Regions from separate parts of the Homo sapiens genome. Here all the other regions are linked to region 4. Evidence: promoter capture Hi-C in 16 types of primary human blood cells and fetal thymus (Javierre and others, 2016). All regions are on one chromosome and are shown on one strand. Each heading gives the region's core, a stretch centred on a gene start or on the middle of the fragment in contact. The rest is flanking DNA. Distances are from core to core; before and after follow the strand shown. Region 1 has its middle 57 kb from the start of UST-AS2. Region 2 overlaps UST (uronyl 2-sulfotransferase). Region 3 overlaps UST (uronyl 2-sulfotransferase). Region 4 holds the start of UST (uronyl 2-sulfotransferase). Region 5 overlaps UST (uronyl 2-sulfotransferase).

Region 1 (4,299 bases), core at 1,241-3,740, 340 kb after region 4:
CACCCAAATATAAGCACTATTTACATTTTAGTGCATATCCTTCCAGTCTGTTCCATGTGCGTATATCCTTTTCTATACATATAATATCATTGAGATCATGTTAAATATAAAACTCTACATACCACCATTCACTTAATATGTAAAAAGAATACTCAATAACATTTTATACTTATAAATCTCTATATCAGGGAAGCTGTGACATCAGAATATCTGTGAACTTCTTGAATTTGTGTAGAGAATCATAAAGGTATAAGCATATTGGTATGTACTTCTTTTGGGAAGGGGGTCCATATTTTCATCAGATTCTCAAAATGGTCTGTTACCAAAGAAAAAGGTTAAACACTACAGCATTTAAGTTTTCAAAGCACTTTCACATAAATTACAATACATTCACAGCTGCTACATATTTAATATTTTACTTTTAACTGATCTCAGGTGACATTTAAAGGTTCATTGACACAAGGCAAACCGTACCTTGCAAATACATGCACTTGAACCACAAATGCTCAAGCCAGACCCTTAGCTTGTGGGTGAGCCGTCCCGTTCCCCAGCCTCCCATCACAGGAAAGCTCCCTTAACCTCACATCATGCCTCACTCTTGTGAAATGGTTAAAACAGCTTACAAAGGCGTGGATAGAGCTGACCCAACCAGTTTAGCCCAGAGCTGTTCCACTGCCTCAATCACTAGGGCTCCTGGACAGAGCTTGATTTTAGGGCAAGACTATTCAGATCATTTAAACCCAAAATTGGATCTCTCAGGCAAATTATTGATTCACCTATATAAATTAAACTAAGTCAGCTATTATTCGAGTCTCGCTTCCATAATGAATTGTACACAACTTCAGTGGACTCCACCCTTCAGAGCCCTCCTTGAGTCTGTTCTGGTTACATTTATTTAACGGTGACAAAGTTTCCTTTCCACTTTGTGCAGCATAGCTCTCTTCTCTCCACTTCACAGAAGTCACGTTCTCTGTCCCTCGGCACACGCTTGTATCTTAATCTTTATTTTTCCAACTCAGTTGTGGAATTCCACCAGGAAAACCCTTTCTTGCTCAAGAAGAACTGCGGGTACAATTTCAGCTCACCTTGGGTCTGTGTTGCCCCAGGGAGCCCAGGCTGAGGGTGAACAAGCTGCAGCTGCCACTTGAACAGCGCTTTCTCAGGTCTTGAGCCGCTTTGCGTCATCTCTGTTGCTTCAGTGCCTCCAGAAGCCCCTTGGTGCTCCCCCCAAGGGTAGCGCTCACCACGCTACATTGTAAATGCTCATTTAACCATTGTCTCACCCCCCAGACCACACCCTCTGTGAGGGCAACACCTTGTCTTGTTCACTGCAGTGTCCACGGCACTTAAATGCAGCACTCAGAATGAAGGAGTGAACAAATGAGCCAATGGGTGAGTGGCTGAATGAATGCAGTGAACTAATTCTTTTTCACTGAGCAAAGGAAGGCGGAGAACTTGGAGTGAGAAACAGGAGGGCAGAGTAAACAGGAGAGATAGAGAAAGAAAGTGACAGAGACTTGCCACCTCTGGGAAACCAACACTAGTGGCCCAACATGACCAGAATCCCCCTGGTCAGCTTCTAAGGAACGCTCTATGGGTGTTTTATGTAAACATTTCACATGGCTCACGCCTGTAATCCCAGCACTTTGGGAGACCAAGGCGAGAGGATCACCTGAGGTCAAGAGTTCGAGACCAGCCTGGCCAACGTGGTGAAACCTCATCTCTACTAAAAAATACAAAAATAATTAGCTGAGTGTGGTGGTGTGCCCCTGTAGTCCCAGCTACTCTGGGAGGCTGAGGCAGGAGAATCACTTAACCCAGTAGGCGGAGGTTGCAGTGAGCCGAGATCGCGCCATTGCACTCCAGCCTGGGCGACAGAGGGCGACTCCGTCTCAAAAAAACATTTAAAAAATCTAAAAAATAATAATAAGTGAAGAGGGAAAATCATTCAATATAAGAATCCCCCTCTAAAGGAGCCAAGCAGGTAGGTCTAATAATTCAGACTGTTCCTCTGCTCCATGGTGTGTGGAATGATTTACTGCATCCATAAAGGAAATTGCAGGACTTAGAGCTGAGAGACACTCCGGAGGCCCTGAAACTGGTATGGCGCAGACACAGAGCTGTGTCTGAAGATGTGGCTCCCGGGACTGGAGGGTCTGCAGCTGCCCTGAGCCCACAGGTGACGGTGTTCAAAAGAGGAGCGGCATCAGCAGTGGCTCTGTCCCACGGCTGATTAACGCAACGGAATGTACAGTCAGCAAGGGGGTGCTGCCTGTCAGGCTGTGGACTTACTGTCTGTCCCAGACTGGCTTTGTTCAAGTTTAAGGGCATTGTAATATTTAATATGGCCTGTAGCAATTTCATACCATTTGTAAAAATCATGAGACTATTTAATATAGAAAAAATATGTTCAAGCTTCCACCTAGAAAAATAACTGTGTATAGAACAGAATAAAAATGAGTTCAGAAGAATATTAGCTGATTAACACATTCTATTGAGTTAAGAAACTAGAACCCAGATATACGGGCACAACCAGGAAGGAAAGTGGGAATCTTAAAGGAAGAAGAAGCTTCAGATTAGAGAAGAGATGACCTTTGACTAAGAAGTCCCTAGTAGTCGTACTTAAAGCTTATCACCAAACTCGAACCAATTGTACAGTGTCAGTTAGTAAATCCTAAATCGAATGATCAGCATGTTACCTAGGACACGGCTGCGGCCCTGCGTTCCAGTCGCTATGCTATTCTTTCGCTGTGATGAGTTACTCTGTGTAAAGCAGGGGTCCCAGACTTTTGATTTATGAACCAAGAAAAAAAAATTAATAGAAACATGGAACCAAAATAGGACTGTCAGCTTCCTTTCCCCATTGGTCAAGTAAAAATATGAAGCAAAAAAAGGAAGAGGAGAGAAGGGAATTACTATCTACCGTCACCATGATTTGGGGCAAAGAATAGACATTTTCACATTAAAAAACTAAGACCATAATCTCCAAATTTAAAAAGATGTGATTTTGTATTTAAGAAAACAGTCATTCATTGTTCTTTTCTCACAGGCAGGCTTTGGGGAACCAGGGGATGGAAGAGTGGAGAAGAATACGGGCTTTGTAGTAACACAGTTCAAATATCAATCCTGCCACCTATTAACGAGGGCAGGTAACTTCAGGTTCCTGAGACCTAGGATCTGTCTTCTGTGAAAGAGGCATATGTACTTCACAGGTAATTGTGAGAAGGAACTGAGACAGATACATTAAGGCATAATAAATGCTAGCACTTTCTTCTGGTGAGGATTTTTGGCCGTCAAGACTAGATGTGTGGTGTTTGGAGACATGGGGAGAGAGAAGGCCTCACTCTCAGTACCCTGCTCCCCAGTGTGAAGGCTCACCTCTTTTGAATCACAAACTCTGCTCAGGCCTGGGTTTTGTGGAGTCTTGTCCTCTTCCTCCCTGTTAGAGAGTCTAATTTAAACCTGATCTCACCTGGCTAAAGAAGATACCTGAAGAGGAGAGTTAAGGGGGAGAGGGGCCCTCTGCATCCTCCCATCCTCAGTTCTCCTTGGCCTGGCCAGGAACTGCTAGGACACCCATCATTTTGATTTAGAATAAAACTGATTTGCCTGTCGGCTATCAAGACAGATGGAGTAAGGTTTGCCAAAAAACAGAGAATTTGGCCGTGGCTATTTCTTATATAGACCTTTCCAGCTGCAAGATTGATATCAGAGTGTAACATGCGGCTGCAAATGTAAAGAGAGTTAGGTTTGATCACAGCCCTCCCTGTTTCCCTCCTGCAGGCAAATGACAGGCAGGTTTTTAAGGAAAAAGCTAAGGCTCTGGGTTTGAGAGTCGGACATTAAGTTAGGGACAAAATGATTTAACCTCCTCCTTGGGATATGCTGAGATACTATTCCAAATATTAATTTGCTCAGAATTCAAATTGAACTCTGCAGCTACCTCATCTGAGAGGAAAATAGAGCTCTGAGAACAAAGGCTTTTCCCAGCATCTCCTTAGGAAAACCCCCTGGACTGTCTGTCAGGAGACCCGGGCTCGAAACCATGGCTTTATTGTTCATCTTTTATGCCTCAGTTTCCCAATAGGAATATATGACTAATACTAGTGTTTTCTTTTGACAAGACTATGGTAAAGAAAGACCAAAGAAAACTATACATTTGAGAAAGTTCATAGCACTAATACAATAAGCTGTAATTTTGATTATGGTCATGTTTATGGAATTTTCAGCTTCATTCTTTCTTTTAAGGCTTAAAGTTTAAAATAAAAACACTTTAAATAAAATTTCAGGTGCAACGGC
Region 2 (4,019 bases), core at 495-2,994, 270 kb after region 4:
GTATCTATTGCACTCCTGCTTTAGTCCAGGCAGGGTGCTGAGCACTGGAGATGCAGTGAACAGTCTGTGCTCTGAGGGACCTACAACCTAAACAAATAAGCACACAAGTACTTGCTCAAGGGCAGCTCTGGAGAAGCAGCAGGTGCCATGAGAGCCTCTGTAGGAGGCTCTGGCGGTCTCTGATGCCCTGCTCCTCCTGTTAATGCAGGACTCTGGGGGGCTGACTGCGTATGTGACAGTTCTTTGGATGTTCCCCATCACTTTACTCCGTCCTTCTTTGTGAAATCTCGACCTCAGCAGATGAACACTGTCCTGGCCAGAATCACCCTAGGCTCTGCTTCTCACCCAGCTCCTGGCCCCCTCCCTGTTGCCACTGCTGCAGAGGGAGGCCACCAGGGTTATTGGGTCCCTCGGACTAAAGGCTCAGGTTCCAAGGGGAGGCCAACTACCAGAGGACACCCTCAAATGTGAGCAGGGCAGGGGGCTCAGAGCATCCTCAAGGCAAAGCACAGGCACCCGCCCGCACAAGCTTTGGTTTGTTTCACAGTGTGTAAATCTCTGTACAGTTTTCTCACAATAAATGTAAGATGCAGCCGGGCACAGTGGCTCACGCCTGTAATCCCAGCTCTTTGGGAGGCCGAGGCGGGCGGATCATGAGGTCAGGAGATGGAGACTATCGTGGCTAACACGGTGAAACCCCATCTCTACTAAAAATACAAAAAATTAGCCGGGTGTGGTGGCGGGCACCTGTAGTCCCAGCTACTCGGGAGGCTGAGGCAGGAGAATGGCGTGAACCCGGGAGGTGGAGCTTCCAGTGAGCCGAGATCACGCCACTGCAGTCCAGCCTGGGGGACAGCAAGACTCTGTCTCAAAAAAAAAAACAAAAAAAGTAAGATGCGTACATTGTAATAAAAGCTAACACTTCAAAAAAGGAATAAGGAAAAATTCAGTATATTCTCATCTTCCTTTATGCCAACCACCAGAAAAAACTGCTTTCAATCGTGTGCTGTGTCTCCTTCCAGATCCTTTTGTGTTTATGTAAACATGTTGATTTTTATATTGTCCTACATGTTTATATTGTCCTGTAGTCTATACTTTCATTCACTTGAAAATTTATCCAAGACTTTTCAGGATAGCACACACAGATCCTTCTCATTTTTTCCAGGTATCCAGTATTTCAGTGTGTGAATGTACCATAATTTCTCTTAAAACCAATCCCCCGTTCGTGAACATGTAAATTCTGCCATATTTTGTTGTAATAAATAAACTCATTGCAGCAATGAATATCCATATATACACACACACACACACACACACACACACACACACACACATCTGTCAGTGTCAAACTCTTCTTAGAAAGGTATTTCAGGTCTAGTGTCTTGCATTTTAATGGGTTTTCATACACAATGAGATGCTCTTAATCACCCTCACCACATGGCTGGACAGACATATGCACCCCCCTATTCACTTCTCATATGTTCCTCCCTGGAAACTGCACCTCCGCCTCTCATGGTAAACTCAAGTGCTTGAGTACTCTCAATTGTGTTTTTTGCAGATTCTGTTTATTTCCGTTGAATTTGTTATTGTAATTGTGTAATTTACTTAATTGGCATATAAACTGAAGAAGTATGAGGGGATTATTGTTTTTAAGAAAAAGCATAAATTATATTTCTCTCATTCCCAATTTGAACTAAAAAAATTGTTACTAGCTAAACACCCACACCTAAACACCTACACCCACACATGTATATCAGATACAGTAGCTTCTACCGACTCATAATTTCATCAACCATATTTGGGAGTTGTGTCCAGTCTTAATCTGCCTTGCCAGTATAGTCTCTGGAAAAACATCCTACAGCTGTTTGGTTTATTTGTAGATTGAGTTATCTTTTCTCCTTAGAAATACCTGAGAATGAGGCATGTCTTATTTAGAATCTCTAATATGATCTACCTTGATAAAAGTTGGTTTTGAGCCCTTCTGCTTACCCCCACCAAGCCATTTCAAGCTCTGGTAACGCCCTCAGAAACACCATGTCCAACCTCATATAAGAGAAATGGAAAACCTGGACGTCACAACTGTTGCCTTTGAAAGTGAGAGGGTGTCTGTATATAAACATCCTGCTACTTTTTAAGCTAATATAGTGTTAGAAGTGATTTTACAGCTCCTCTAAAATTTGCAAACTCTTATGAGACTATTGTAGGTACTTAGTTGTTGGATGCATGGATACACAGAGAAGCCCTAAATTCATGCAACAAACATTTATTAATTGCCAACTGTATACCTACTAATTGGCTGGCAACTGGTGGCGCCACCACGAAGCACAGTGGGTACCACTGTTCTCCCAAGGCCTGTGACCAAACTTAAGACTCGGAGCCACCAGGAAGTGCAGAGATGCAGTTTACTCAACAGAGCATGCACTCTCTAAAATGGCCCAGCCCTGTGTGTGCCTGGCCAGTGGAGCAGGATGCTGGGAGGCAAAAAATAAGTTTTCTCATGAAATCTGTGAATTCTCTTCATCTTCTCAAGGCGTGCCTGTGTAATTCAATCATGAATTTTACTTAAACTGTGTGGCATTTGATAGAGCCTTGCAGAGACTACAAGACATCTGACTGCTGTATTTTCTCTTCTAGGATATCAATGAGTGTATTCTTGAAAACTATCCCGAGTGCTCCAACCCCAGGTTATTTTACATCATTCCGTACTTTTGTGGACAGCATCCCAGATGCAGGTAAGGGCTAAAGCAGGGTCATGGCATGCACGTACGCACAACAAGGGCAAGAACCCCACCAGCCTGGTACTCGGTGGGAATCTTTTGTATCCCTAGTCTCTCAACCTTCTGGAATTCAGTTCCTGTTTACTATTAATCTTTCAAGATAATATTTGAGACTCCAAATGTCCTATAAATAATGAAATTTAAAAATCAGGGTCTGTAGAGGCCTCAGGAGACCACCATATAAAGCTTTGTAACTGGAACCAAACCCTTGTTTATACCTAAAACATACTTGTCACTACTCATCCCATGTTGTTTGTCTTTCTCTTTGGATAAAATGACAAAATGTCACATAAAATGTGATCGTGAAGACCAGGAGCGAACACCCAGCCTGCTCCTGTACAGTGACTGACTTAACCAACAACCTGCCCTCGTAGCATGTGTCACTGGGTCTGAGACACTGGAAGCCCACACCTCAATCCCATAGTGGATATACTTAGTAGGCAGAGAAGAAAGTGTTTTATAATGATCACCTGTCAACCTTACTTGAAGGCACAACCTTCTTTAGAGAGTGACTTACTCAGATAGTCAGGACCCCCAGGGTGTGATCTGCCCAGGTCCTGCATCAGCACCCCTGTATACTTGTTAAGAACCCCCACCCAATCATAGTCTCGTGTGTAGCAGCCTCCCCAGATGCTTCTGGCGTAGCTATAGTTGAAATCTACTGTGCTAGACAAATGTCATAGCCTGGAGAAGAAATGGCAGCAACAATGAAGCATTATATTTGCTTGGTAGGAAATCAACCCCTGCTATCAGAAGTGACATTATTCCCCAAAGGAAACATTAACTAGAGGGTCCTTGTGTTTCTGAAAAGGCCAAAGGAGAACTGCTACTTCTACACCGGCAACGCATTCATTGTACCTTTTTGCTTATGCTATGATTTCTGCTTCGTTTTTAGGCGTATTGTTGTTATTCCTGTCTTGTTTCATTTGCCATAACAAAAGAGTTTGCTTATAGTCCAAATTATAGAACTAGGAGTGTTGGTTTTTGACTTCACCATAAGCCCCCTGAGTCCAGGTGGCCTCTCCCCTGCCCCCGACCCTTGCCTCAATAACAAATACCTCCTGGTTAACATTTAGTGCTTCAGGTATTGGGAAGATTTGGGGCTGGATGACTCACTTGCTGATCACAGTGAATATCTTTATAACAGGAAACATGATTTGAACTCCCTAAAGTATTTTTTAAATCGTGTAGTATTTTTCAGATTTTTGAATTTTCTAATCTTGGAGAGGTGACTCATGACAC
Region 3 (4,270 bases), core at 595-3,094, 320 kb after region 4:
CTCAGTGCTTGCTACACATTAGTTCCCATTAACTGTAGCTGTTACTATAAAAATATACCACAAAGCATTAGGCTCAGCCAGGACTGTCACCATCTCGCACCATATCAGTTAACTAATCGTGCAAATATGTCCTGGTTCTTTTCACTTGTACTTGAAGGACACAATATCACATTTTATTGATGTATAATATTTTACATATTTATGGGATATGTATGATATTTTTTTCCATGCATAGAATGTGCAATGATCAAATCAGGGTGTTTAGGGTATCCATCACCTTGAGTATTTATCATTTCTATGTGTTAGGAACATTTGAATTTTTTTTTCTAGCTACTTTGAAACATACAATACATTGTTGCTAACTATAGTCACCCTACTCTGCTATGGAGCATGAGAACTTACATCTTCTATATAACTGTACATTTGTACCCATTAACCAACCTCTCTTCAGCCCGCTCTCCAACCCAGACATCCTTCCCAGCCTCTGGTATGTATCATCCTACTCCCTCCTTGTGGTCAACTTCTTTAGCTCCCATATATGAGTGAAAATACACGATCTTTGTCTTTCTGTGCCTAGATTATTTCATTTAACATGATGACCTCCAGTTCCATCCATGTTGATGCAAATGACATGATTTCTTTCTTTTTTATGGCCAAATAGTATTCCATTGTGTATAATACCACATTTTCTTCATTCATTCATTGATGGACACAGGTTGATTCCATATCTTTACCACTGCGAATATTACTACAGTAAACACGTGAGCATGCAAGTGCAGGTATCCCTTTGATATGTTGATTTCATTTCCTTTGGATAGATACATAGTAGAAGGGTTGCTGGATCATGGTAGTTCTATTTTTAGTTTTTTGAGAACTCTCCATACTGTTTACCATAGTGGCTGTTCTAATTGGCATTCCCACCAACAGTGTATAAGAGTTCCCTTTTCTCCACATCCTCACCAGCATCTGTTATTTATTGGCTTTTAATAATAGCTATTCTAACTGGAGTAAGATGATAGCTCATTGTGGTTTTGATTTGCATTTCCTTGATGATTAGCATGTTGAGTTTTTTCATATACCTCTTGGCCATTTGTATGTCTTATTTTGAGAAATGTCTATTCGGAAGGATATAATGTCACTTTTGACAGAGTTATTTACCTGCTCTGCCCATCCACCAACTCCCCCATCCTAACCATAGAGGAAGGCATTCAGGGAAGAGAGTTTTATTGTCATGAACTAGGAGTAACCTTATGGCAGTTGACCCAGTCACCTAATCGTAATCAAAGAAAGAAATGTATAAACCCATTATGCTGTAACTTTAAAGAATATTCCCAAAGTTTTTCTGGCCTGAAATTAATAACCATTTATATAGCAAATCAACTCAATCCATTATATAGACCAACATTTTGCAAGTGATTGAAGACTAGTAAAATGTGATTGGTATTTCTCAGATAGTTTTGTAGTCAAGGTATTTATATGATTACACTTGCTGTCCATTGTTTTTAGGAAATTACTGTTTCAACCTTACGACAAAGAGCTTTGAGGCTGTGAAATAGAACAGATTTCCAAATTACTTCTTTACAAGGATCTAGGCTCCCTTTTGCTTATCCCCTTGGATCCTTTGCCAGGTTGGGCCAAATAATTTAAGTAATGAATTTATTTTAAATCACAGGAGTCTTACTTTTTTGTGTATCAGATAACAAAACCCTACACAATGTATAGTGCTCTAAGAGGAAGGGATTGAAGGAGGCTTTCAATGAGAGAATTATTTTTCCTCTGCCTCTCAATGTTTGACTTAAAACTCTTTATTTCTTGTCTGTCTTTCATAAGATTTTTTAGCTCTGTTTTAAAAAACAAAAAGGAACACCTAAGACCTGTGAACAATGACCCGCCCCAGATTAGCTAGAGTTCATATCTTCAGAGAAGACAGATATTATAAAATGTTCTGTTAGGAACCCATTTCAGAAGAGTCTATGCCAAGTTATTTAACAGAAATTCTAGAGTGTTCAATGTGTGTTATGTTTTTAATTTCAATGAAGACCATGTTATCTATTTACAAGGATCTAGGCTCCCCTGTGCAAAGGACCCAACCTGGCAAAGGACTTTCAAAAGAGTCAGTTTGAAAAGTAATACCCTTATTCAATGAGGCTGTTGGCCACATAGAGAATTTATTTATTTTTTATTTTAATTAATACCTAATGGGGTACATGAGATGTTTTGATACAGGCATGCAATGCATAATAATCTCATCATGGAGAATGGGGTATCCATCCCCTCAAGCATTTATCCTTTGCATTACAAACAATCCAGTTATGCTCTTTTAGTTATTTTATTATTATTATTATTAATTTTAGACAGAGTCTCGCTCTGTCGCCAGGCTGGAGTGCAGTGGCGCAATCTCAGCTCACTGCAACCTCTGCCTCCCGGGTTCAAGCAATTCTCCTGCCTCAGGCTCCCGAGTAGCTGGGACTACAGGTGCATGCCACCACGCCCAGCTAATTTGTGTATTTTTAGTAGAGACAGGGTTTCACCATGTTGGCCTGGATGGTCTCGATCTCTTGGCCTCGTGATCCACCTGCCTCGTCCTCCCAAAGTGCTGGGATTACAGGCATGAGCCACCATACCCGGCTCTTTTAGTTATTTTTAAATGTACAATTAAATTATTATTGGCTATAGTCACCCTGTTGTGCTATCAAATAATAGGTCTTATTCATTTTTCAATTTTTTTTGTACCTATGAACCATCCCCACCTGTCCCCAATCCCCCACTACCCTTCTTAGCCTCTACATAGAGAATTTTTCAAATTCCTTCTTTAGAATTGCTACTGAAGGCTTCAGAAGGTACCTCAAATATCCTAAAAATTGGGAAGTCTATGTCCTTTCAGATGAGTCTGATTTTGGAAATAGCCATTTGGAACTGTATTTAGTAAATTATATACCTATTCAAATTTGTTGACAAAAATTTTAGTCAAAAGCAAGATTATAAAAGAAAATGTGAGGGCAAATCTTCATGACCTTGGATTTGGCAATGGCTTCTTTAATATGACACCAAAAGACAGGCAATAAGAAGAAAACAGATAAAATGGTCTCCATTACAATTAAAAACTTCTATATGTCAACCTTGGATTTGGCAATTTTTTTTAATGTGACACCAAAAGTCAGGCAATATGAGAAAAATGGATAAAATAGTCTTCATTAAAATTAAAAACTTTTATGCATCAAAGAACACTATCAACAGAGTGAAAAGACAGCCTGTGGAATGGAAGAAAATATTTGTAAATTATATACCTGATATATGTGCAGATTATCTAAAATATGTAAATAACTCCTTCAACTCAACAATAAAAACAAACAAAAGCAAACAAAAAAAAACCCCACTTCAAAAATGGGCAAAGGACTTGAATAGACATTTCTCTAAAGAAGATATACAAACAAACAGCATTTGTTGGACACATGCTTGTCAAAAAGCACATGAAAAGGTCATTAGAAATTAGGGAAACCATTAGCATCAGCATCACTACAGGAGTCATTAGGGAAATGCAAATCAAAACCACAGTGAGATACCACTCCACACTTACTGGGATGGCTACAATTTTAAAAAGGGAGGAAAATAACAATCGTAGGAGAGAATTCGAAGAAATTGGAACCTTCACACATTGCTGGTAGGAATGTAAAATGGTGCAAACACTGTGGAAAATAATTTGGCAGTTCTTCAAAACATTAAACTTAGAATTACCGCATGACCCAGCAATTCTGCTCCTAGGCATATACCCAAAATAAGTGGAAACAGGGACTCAGATACTAGAATGCAAATGTTCATTATAATAAGCAAAAGATGGAAACAACCCAAGTGTCTCTCCAAGGATGAAAGGATAAACAAATTGCGTTCTATCTATACAATGGAATGTTATTCAACCTTAAAAGGAATGAAGTTCTGGGCCAGGCATGGTGGCTCACACCTGTAATACCAGCACTTTGGGAGGCCGAGGCAGGTGGATCACCTGAGGTCGGGAATTCGAGACCAGCCTGACCAACATGGAGAAACCCCATCTCTACTAAAAATACAAAATTAGCCAGGCATGGTGGTGCATGCCTGTAATCTCAGCTACTCAGGAGGCTGAGGCAGGAGAATCACTTGAACCCGGGAGGTAGAGGTTGTAGTGAGCCAAGATTGCGCCATTGCACTCCAGCCTGGACAACAAGAGCAAAACTCCATCTCAAAAAAAAAAAAAAAGGAATGAAGCTCTGATACACACTACAACATGGAAGAA
Region 4 (4,628 bases), core at 681-3,180:
TCTTCTTAAGCTCAAACGTTATTAATTGGGAGTCTGTTCTGGGCTACTCATTGTACTGATTAAAGTAATTCACATTAATGGGCAATGACTGATCTACTCAATTCTCTTAGGGGAAGTCACATTTCTAAAATGTGCATATTAATCCAAATAAAACCCTGATTCATGAGATAAATGTAAAGCAAATGATTAACACTCTATTCAGGGTTTTCTGTCACAGAACAAAATATTTTCTTTTCTCTTGGGGCCCCAAAACAGCCTTCTCATCCCTTAGAAAGTGGGCTAGGACAATGTAAAATTGGACAGTAGAGTTGTGTGTGTGTACGTGTGTCTCTGTGTGTGTGCAGCACCTGTCACCTCATCTACACATCTCTCTAGCTCATGATATATGTTTCAAATCATGAACCAGAGACATTCATATATGAACATGGTTAAGACATATTCATTCTTTCTTTCTTTCTTTTCTTTTCTTTCTTTTTTTTTTTTTTTGAGACGGTGTCTCGCACTGTCGCCCAGGCTGGAGTGCAATGGCGCGATCTCGACTCACTGCAACCTCCGCCTCCCGGGTTCACACGATTCTCCTGCCTCAGCCTCCTGAGTAGCTGAGGTTAAGACATATTCTTAACGAGTAAGTTCTTTGTCTAGGATAATATTTTGTAATTTTCCACAGAATATTCTTCAGATGCCTAACTTGATGAAGGTTTTCAGGAGCCTAGTCTTAGAATCATAGAGGTTCTTGGCTCCTGGTTCCTTCTTAAATCCAATTGTTCATTACTGGAATATACAAATGAGTAGGGAGCCAGAAATGATAGGCACCAGAAACTGAGGTTTCCATTTCTCAATGTGGCCTGAACTAAATGAATTAAATCTCATCCTCCTATGGGACGTGAAGGAAAAGGGCTCTGGCTGGGAAGTACTGCTGTGCAGTGGTTAGTATAGTGGGTCTGAGGGTCAAATAGATTTGAGTGCAACTCCCAACCCAACTCCTACTACTAGCTTTGGGACCTCGGGTGAGTCACACAGCCCTCAGGTGCTACAGCTTCTATAAATAGTGATATAGTATTCTTACTTAAAGTGTGGCTGATCAGAGCAGCCCTTCCGTGGATCAACCACCCCATCAGAGGATCTATGTCTAGGATTGAGCCTTTTCTGCCCCAGGAGGTTCTTTCAGGTCCAGAGGCTTTCCCGTGGAGGGAAGAGAGGCAGCAATGAAATCAGCGTATAGGCGGACTGGGCTCTTTCCCCTTCATGTCTGCAGGGCAATGACCTCCTAGAGTCCGCTATGCACCCCCCACTTGCCTCTCTGGGCACTGCGAGGTGGAGCAGTTGTAGGACCAGGAAAAGCAAGAACAGAGCGTCCTCTTCGGCTACCCTACCCGGGAGTTCAGGCGCTGCGCCTGGCCCTCTGGGGCGTGTTTGACCATAACTCGCACCGCTTGCTCTTTTCCCATTTCAGCAAAGTCTTGAGCCTGTATTCTAGTACCTTTTATCAGCCTTGGGTAAGCAGCTCGCACGGGGTATATAAGGAGAATCAACTTTCTGAACTGAAAAAAATGTAAATAGTAAAGTCAGTCGTGCTTCTTCCTGCCGGTGACTGTTTACAAGAGGGAAGTCAGCGGGGCCCCCAAGAGGTCGCTGGTGGCGCAGGAACCGCATCCAGATTGTAAAGAACGGGGGAAGGAAAAAAAAAGAAAACACCCAGAAACTTTCTTCCTTGTTGCGAATAATCGCCGCCTCCCCCCCTCCGCCCCCAGCAGAAGCAGTAACGTGACACCCGAGCGAAATCCCGAGACCCGAGCGGAGAGGGAGGGGAGAGGGAGGAGAGTGCTGCGGAGCGCCGGAGGGAGAAAGGGGAGGAGAAGGAGGAAAACCCCTGTCAAGGAGGTGGAGCGAGGGGATGGTGTCCGCCTCCTGTTCCTCCCTGCCGTTTTTTAGAGAAGCCTGAACCGGGACAAAACACGCCGAGACCTACAGACACAAAGCCGGGGGGTCCACGCTGGCGCTGGAGGCGAGCCCCGGCGGCCGCAAGCGAGCCCGAGGCGCGGCGGGGCGCGGGGCGTGGGGACGCTAGCGGGCGCCGGACGGGCGCGGCGCCCCGTCACGGGCAGCGCCCCGAACCGGGGCCGGACACCTCGGCCGCTCGGGCCGCGGCGGCGGGGACCATGCCGAAGAAAGTCTCCTGAGCCCGGCAACTTCGGCCCCTCCCCGCCCCCACCCGGCTGCCCTCCGCGCGGCCCTCCCCATGTGCAGCCGGCCAGCCGGGCTCTCCTCCTCGCGGCGGATGGGTGACCTTTTCCTGGCACGGGCAGGCTGTGGGAGGCAGCGGAGCAGGCGATGAAGAAGAAGCAGCAGCATCCCGGCGGCGGCGCGGATCCCTGGCCCCATGGGGCCCCTATGGGGGGCGCCCCTCCGGGCCTGGGCAGCTGGAAGCGTCGGGTGCCCCTGCTGCCTTTCCTGCGCTTCTCCCTCCGGGACTACGGCTTCTGCATGGCCACCCTGCTGGTCTTCTGCCTGGGCTCCCTCCTCTATCAGCTCAGCGGGGGACCCCCTCGCTTCCTGCTCGACCTGCGGCAGTACTTGGGTAAGGAAGCTGGGCAGGCGCTAGGGCGGCGCCGACAGCGCAAAGTTGTGCGGCGGGGAGAGGGTCGCGGCGGGGACTTCTCGCGCTGCCACCGCGCGCCGCCGCCGCCCCGGGTCTCTCCAGGTGCTAAGCCCGTGAGCATCTGTGCCGCGGTCGGGAGCGCCTTCTTCCTCCCGCGCGTCCGACTGTCCTCACCGAGGCGGGGGCGCCGCTGGGTTGCGCTGCCGGCAGGTACCCCGGGGCGAGGCACCGCTCACCTTCCCCCCGCCCCACCTCCGCCACCCGGATCCGGACTGGGGCGGAGTGGATGGGTGTGTGGGGTGTGCCGGAGTGTGTGTATCTTCAGGCCTGGCGGCGCGGGGAGTGGCGAAGGGAAGGGAAGGTCCTCTTCGTTGCATTGTTAGTGACCGCAGTTCAGTCCCGTCCCGCGCCCCGGGGAGTGTGGGTGGGTTTAGCCCTTTGCCACCGTCCGCTCTGAGAATTCTGTCCCGCAGATCCCCCGCCTGCCCGCCGGCCCTAGTGGCTCCGCGCTGTCCCCGGGCTGGCTTGTCCCTTGGCTGCCGCTGCCCACCCCGCCGCCCGCAGCTAGCCTGGCGCGGGGAACGGGTTGCATCCAGGGGTTTGGGGATGCCCGAGGGCGCTGGTCAGCCTGGCCAGCAGTGTCGCCCCCAGTAACCCGAGGATCCTCGGCGCTGTGTGCGTCTCAAGCTCAAGTCAAAACTTGTGTGTGTGTGTGTGTGTGTGTGTGTGTGTGTGTGTGTGTGTGTGTGTGTGTGGTTTATTAGGAGAGAGGCCGCCTGTCTTTAGCAGAAGTAAGGAAGGGGTTTGACGGGAGGGAAAGAGCCGCTCCAGCGAGAAGGCGTGACCCCGCAGCTCCCTCGTCTCGGCTGCGGGAGCCAGGGGTGCCAGGGACAGGCGAGCGCAAGCCCAGGTCGCAAGGACGATGCTGGCACTCGCGTTCGAGCCAAGGGAGGATGCAGATCCCTCCCAAGTCTGTGGCCAGAAGAGGTCGTGCGGGGGTGAAGGCTGGGAGAGCTCCAGCTTCTTGCAAGCATCCGAAGTGATAAGCCTGAGCATCTGCACGATGAGAGCGAGTGCGGGGAAGCAGAGCCACCGAAGTGCTGGAAAGAAAATGGGCCAAATGACCCGGGCCAGCTGGAGGCTGCCACAGTTACCCCAAACGTCACTTCGTGGCAGAAGCCACAGGTCTAGATAGTAGACCGTTTGGAGAAAAGAGAAAAGAAAAGGAAAAAAAAAAAACCCAAAACAAACAAACAAAACAAAGCAAAACAAAAACAAAACCACATCAGCCAAGTTACAAATGTGTTAGGGCATTTGGAAATGTAGATGTGGATAAAATAATATTCTTTACCTTGTACAAGACCTCATATTTTAAAAGTTACACTTTTATTTCTTTATAAACTTTGGGGAACTACAGATTACAGGAAAAGTTGGCCCAAGTAGATTTCCATAGCATTTGGTTTCATAGAGGATTTGGGGCAATATATCCTTTATTAGGGAATCAAACCTCTTCTTTTCATAAGTTCTGTATTGTGGAGTCTCATAGCTTCCTCCACTCTCTGACACCTGCTAGTGCCACAAAAGTTAACAGTATTTTCATCACCAGCAGCAATCCCTGTTAACAGGCATTGGGAGGCAAGCGTTGAGGCTCAGGGTCTTTCTCCATTAAATCTGACAGTGAATTCTTGTGGAAGTTCTTTTTAAGTAATAGATGGAGGCCAGGGGTGTAGGGAAAAGTGTAATGGACCAGGATGGAAGTCATCTGTGCTCATTGTCCTCAAAGCACCTGGCCTCGTGTAGGGTACTCAGACTTCATAGGCCTGGTGTTTCATGGCAGAATTAGAAGCCACACCTGACTGTCAATGAAACCTCCACCCAGCTCCTAAAGTTTTGGGGTTCTGACACCTTTCTTGAGGAAGGGAAATTCTGGGAGGAGGAAGGAGCAAAGGTACTACTGAGGATAAAATCAAGACATTTCAACATATATTGCATTAACATTTTCACTTTATATTTCCAAACAATGAGGCCT
Region 5 (4,195 bases), core at 1,333-3,832, 310 kb after region 4:
TCATGCCCCTGGTAAATATAAATTGATTCTGAGTTTTTAGAAAATAAATCACGAATTGTACAAAAACATTGAGAGTCAGAAGATGTTAGAATACTGGATGTGGAGGTGAATTGGTGTGCCTTTTCTTCCATTTGATTTGGACTATGGTGTGACTGACTATTTTAGCATCTCTTCCTAATTCTTTCCTTTGTTGAAAGTGTTGTAAAGGCCCACATGCCAAGGCTAATTGTGGGGCCAGAGCCAGGGAGACTGCTGGGCAGGTGGTTATCTAGGCAGGGATGGCAGTTGGGCAGAAGGCACAAGCAATACAAGCTCTGGGAACATCAGGTGGCTTCAGTCTAGAGACACAGATCAGGTAACCCAGGGAAAGATGGTGGAGTTGAGGAATAATGCTAAGAGTGAGGGCCACAGACCAGCATCGACCAGAAGCCTCCACGGTGAAATATGGATTCCATGAGCTTGGACTCAGCAGCCAAGAAAAGTCTCATTTAATAGTCATTGCGATCTCAATTTCACAGCCATATCGATGGAGAAACATCTGTGCTCAAGAGGAGAGAATTCCACAACAGCTTACAGCCACACACTGGTCATCCCTGTGAAAGATGCAGCTGACCAGACATGATGTAGAAAGTCAGGCAGGCCCTCTGAACCCCATGGGCGCCTCTGCCAAGTGGTGGCGAGCATTCTGGAAAAAGTGGAAAGGCCAATACAGAGAAGTGACGGGCCTGCAAATGGTCCTGATTTTTCTAACACCAATTCAGGGGCATCATTGGGTCTTTTGACCCAAGATCTTAAGTGGATCCTCTGTGCATTTCATTACTTAGTTAAATAGCATGTCATTCCGTAAGAAAGCAAACCTGAATTGGTTTTGCCTAAACTACATAGCCCAGGAAATTGAGCAGAGGATTGAATGGCACAGTTCCTGATCTCAGCAGGCTATGGTTTCCCCTTTGTATCTCCACTTTGTATCTGACTGCATTTTCTCTTTGCCCTAAACCATCCAGCTATTGCAGTGGCGATGGGGGGGTGTCTGACAAAACTTTACTTTTCTTCCTTTTTTATTAAAGTGTTTCAGATGCTGCAGTCATGAATGATTTTTGAATGTTTATTATTTACCTAATACAGGCAAGAAGATATAGTAGAAGATAAAAAATGAATAGAAAAGAGATAGTACTACCCAAATGGAACTCTATTAGGGAGGGGAAAATATGTGAAACATCCAAAATATATTTTTGACATTTTTACAGAATTAAATAATTATAGATTATACGGTATTCATGATCAAGAAGTGCTTTGGAATTTTATGCACCTAATGAATGTATAGGTGGGGAAAGTTGATCTATAAATGCACATGTATACTGTAAGGGATATGAATCTTTACTTTCACTGAACCACCAGACCTTAAAATTTTATAGGAGCAGAGCATCTCAAAGTCTTGATGTCTGTAATTTCATAAAGTATCATTAACACATTAAGTTTCAACTAAATTGAAATTAATTGTTTCATTTGGGGAGATTAGCATTTTTCTATTTCAGTGGCAGAATACTGATGTTTCAAGGGAATATATTTTGAGGATAACAGTCATAATATTAATAGTTGTTGTTATTATATTTAACACTCATTGGGAGCTTCTTGTGTCTCAGGAATCTTGTTAAGTCCTTTAGATGTACTATTTCATTTAATCCTAAGAACAACCCTGTGAGGAAGATACTATTATTATGTCCATTGTACAGATAAGGAAACCACCAACTTAGAGATGATTCATAACGCTTCTATGTTACTGAGCTGGTCGCTAGCAGCACTCAAGTGATTGAACATTCAACCCAGGCCCAGGTGACTTGCAACCCCGTGCTCGTAAGCTCTTAACTGGTCTCTCTCTCTCTCTCTCTCTCTGAAAAGGGCAAAATCTAAAACATGATTATCTGAGGGAGATGGGGTAGCTAGAAAAGTAGGATTCTATGAAATGTTATTCTGCTGAATTCTCAAGAACACAGTGTTTCTGGAAAGCTTAGTGGTTCTGTTGAGGTGATGTTCATTGATATTCTAAATGTGTTACTTTGTTTTATTTTTTTGTTGGTGGGGGAAGACTTTACTAGTTGGAATTACTAAAATCGCTTTAATAAAGTGCTTGCAAAGACTCAATCTGGTTAACAGTAAAGCCATTTGTTTCAGTCATGTCAGCAACTTTGGTTTTCATAAGGGTTTTAATGAATCGGAGAGTGGAATTTAAGAAAGCAAACAATCCAAGGAATACTCCTTATTTTTCTAAAATAGCAAAGCAAAAATGGGAACCCTTTCCAGTTTAGTTACAGCAAGTATCTATTGGAGTTTTAGAAATTCTTAGAGTACATCATTTATCATATAGAACAAAACTTGATTAATGAACACTTTTTAAAAGTCTTTTTAGGGTCCTATTATTATTTTAGTTGTTTAGATATAAAAATATTTTATGACATATTCACTGTTAAATTTATAGTGAATTGACATTCAGTGACATTTGTTTTTAAAGTTGTTTATTGAAATATGTAGTCTACCAGAAATAAGTACGGTTACCAACTACTGAAATCAATTTAATAGTAATTTGGTCTTGTTAGTCTGTTAAAAAGAATTATTGGCCTTCAGATATTTCCACAAAGCCCTTTGTTACTCATGAATCCCATCAAGATGCTATGAATAAAGACTGTGAATATCAATAAGTTTGAAAACATTCCATGCTCATGTTCAGGGTCATATTTTTCCCTGTCTTCTATGTTCCTCTTTGTGGCTATAAACCCAAACTTATGTGTTGTGTGTTTTTTCTATGACAATTATGGATATGACTTATTTACTATATGCTCTATGAGGTATAACCTAATGTCAACTGACTTCAACTATGTTTGCCATACTTCCAAAAAAATAGCCACTCATGTATCTGTCTGATCAGGAGGTGAACCGATGGTGCTGTATGAAATTGAGAACTAATTATCTCATAAACATTCTAAGTGGATATAAGGAATTATGTGCTCAGTTGCAACCACTAATTTATCGAAGCACCGGGTCTAAATACCTCAGGGAATGCACAGAAGCCTGATGGTTGAAAAGCCTTCAAAGCATTCTCTCAGCTAAAAAGTACAAGAATTGGGGCTCATATCTAGTGCCTTTTTGGACAGTTGGTCACAGAAGCTTAGAAACATTGGCACAAGTATTGTCAGGTGGAGCCTGGCCGTGACCTCTGTGAAATGGCTGTCATGAGCTTGGCAGGGTGGGAATAATGGCTCTCCTGCCACCATCTGTCACCCCTGTCCAAGACACCAGCACAATTTGAGAGCAGCTGTGGTTCCCTACCCTATTCTCACCCCATCCCCCCATGCCCAGCAGCTCCCTCCCTGGGACTTTGGACCTCGTGGGAAAAAAATGGAGAAGGAGGGAAAGAAAAGTACTTGAGGGTTTTGTAAATGTTCAGAAAGGGAGGGGGGTGCGGTAGAATTAAATCTACCCAAAGAAGAGCCAAAGAGCTTTCACTTGCTTTCCCTTCTAGCCAACCAGTAACCAGTAGGCCTTCATTTTATTGTCACATGTAAAACTCAAGAAGTGATGAGTAAGTAGCATTCAATTAGAATTTAATCTTTTTTGGTAGAAATGGTGTAAAAGTTTTCAATGAGGATATGCTGATTCCTGGTTGCATGTTCCACAGCCTTTGATGTTCAACCACATCATCTTGCACTTATAGCTAAAAGGTGTCAGACACCTAACATTGTCTTAGCAATCTTCTGTGGTTCCAGATACTGTGTGCATCTTACAGGCTGGAGTTGGGGGACACCGATGCTTAATGGGAAAACTAATGACTTTATACAGATCTTATAAAACTCTGCTATTGTCGGGGGGCAGGCATTTAGTAGATTAAGTTTGTAATCTAAGAGAGGAAACTGGGCAGGAAAGACAAGAGTGAGGTGAAGCACCACCGTGGACCAGAAAAAGGCTTGAAATTAGAAGCCTTTGGCAAAAGTGTGAAACTTTGCCACTTTACATTGTTCAGTGGGTCAGAAATTGTCAAAGATTTTCTTTTTTCTCCAAAGAGAAATGACGAGGAAGGAGAGACATTTTTTATTTGTTCTGGGTGTTTGTTTATTGTTTGTTTTGGACAAGGTCTCACTCTGTTGCCCAGACTGGAGTACAGTGGTGCAGTCACAGCTCACTGCAGCCTAGACCTCCCCGG

The links. The method cuts DNA at HindIII sites, captures the fragments that hold promoters and counts their contacts. A CHiCAGO score of 5 or more calls a contact.
Region 1: a fragment that was not itself captured here is called in contact with the fragment with the promoter of UST in region 4 in 1 of 17 cell types (total B cells); the score reaches 6.1 in total B cells.
Region 2: a contact is called between a fragment that was not itself captured here and the fragment with the promoter of UST in region 4, in 4 of 17 cell types (total B cells, naive B cells, M2 macrophages and 1 more). The highest score is 7.5, in total B cells.
Region 3: a contact is called between a fragment that was not itself captured here and the fragment with the promoter of UST in region 4, in 1 of 17 cell types (total B cells). The highest score is 5.7, in total B cells.
Region 5: a contact is called between a fragment that was not itself captured here and the fragment with the promoter of UST in region 4, in 1 of 17 cell types (naive B cells). The highest score is 7.2, in naive B cells.

What each region holds. Positions count from the first base shown.
Region 1 is chr6:149,087,461-149,091,759 of GRCh38, forward strand. No RefSeq gene overlaps it. Among named protein-coding and RNA genes, the nearest start is that of UST-AS2, 57 kb to the left of the region's middle. The HindIII fragment of the contact is 154 bases long and covers 2,414-2,567 here.
Region 2 is chr6:149,016,505-149,020,523 of GRCh38, forward strand. It overlaps UST (uronyl 2-sulfotransferase), which reads left to right. Exons shown (of 8, transcript NM_005715.3): 6 at 2,635-2,732. Among named protein-coding and RNA genes, the nearest start is that of UST-AS2, 14 kb to the right of the region's middle. The HindIII fragment of the contact is 2,434 bases long and covers 528-2,961 here.
Region 3 is chr6:149,068,436-149,072,705 of GRCh38, forward strand. The region is part of intron 7 of UST (uronyl 2-sulfotransferase); the gene reads left to right. Among named protein-coding and RNA genes, the nearest start is that of UST-AS2, 38 kb to the left of the region's middle. The HindIII fragment of the contact is 7,123 bases long and covers 1-4,270 here.
Region 4 is chr6:148,745,100-148,749,727 of GRCh38, forward strand. UST (uronyl 2-sulfotransferase) reads left to right here and starts at 1,931. Exons shown (of 8, transcript NM_005715.3): 1 at 1,931-2,578. The coding sequence starts at 2,332. It overlaps LOC124901425 (a long non-coding RNA gene), which reads right to left and starts at 500. Exons shown (of 2, transcript XR_007059806.1): 1 at 1-500. RefSeq lists enhancers at 1,560-1,619, 1,680-1,759, 3,068-3,569, 3,570-4,069 and silencers at 2,330-2,419, 2,720-2,889. The HindIII fragment of the contact is 11,485 bases long and covers 1-4,628 here.
Region 5 is chr6:149,050,723-149,054,917 of GRCh38, forward strand. The region is part of intron 7 of UST (uronyl 2-sulfotransferase); the gene reads left to right. Among named protein-coding and RNA genes, the nearest start is that of UST-AS2, 20 kb to the left of the region's middle. RefSeq lists an enhancer at 3,693-3,812. The HindIII fragment of the contact is 1,155 bases long and covers 2,006-3,160 here.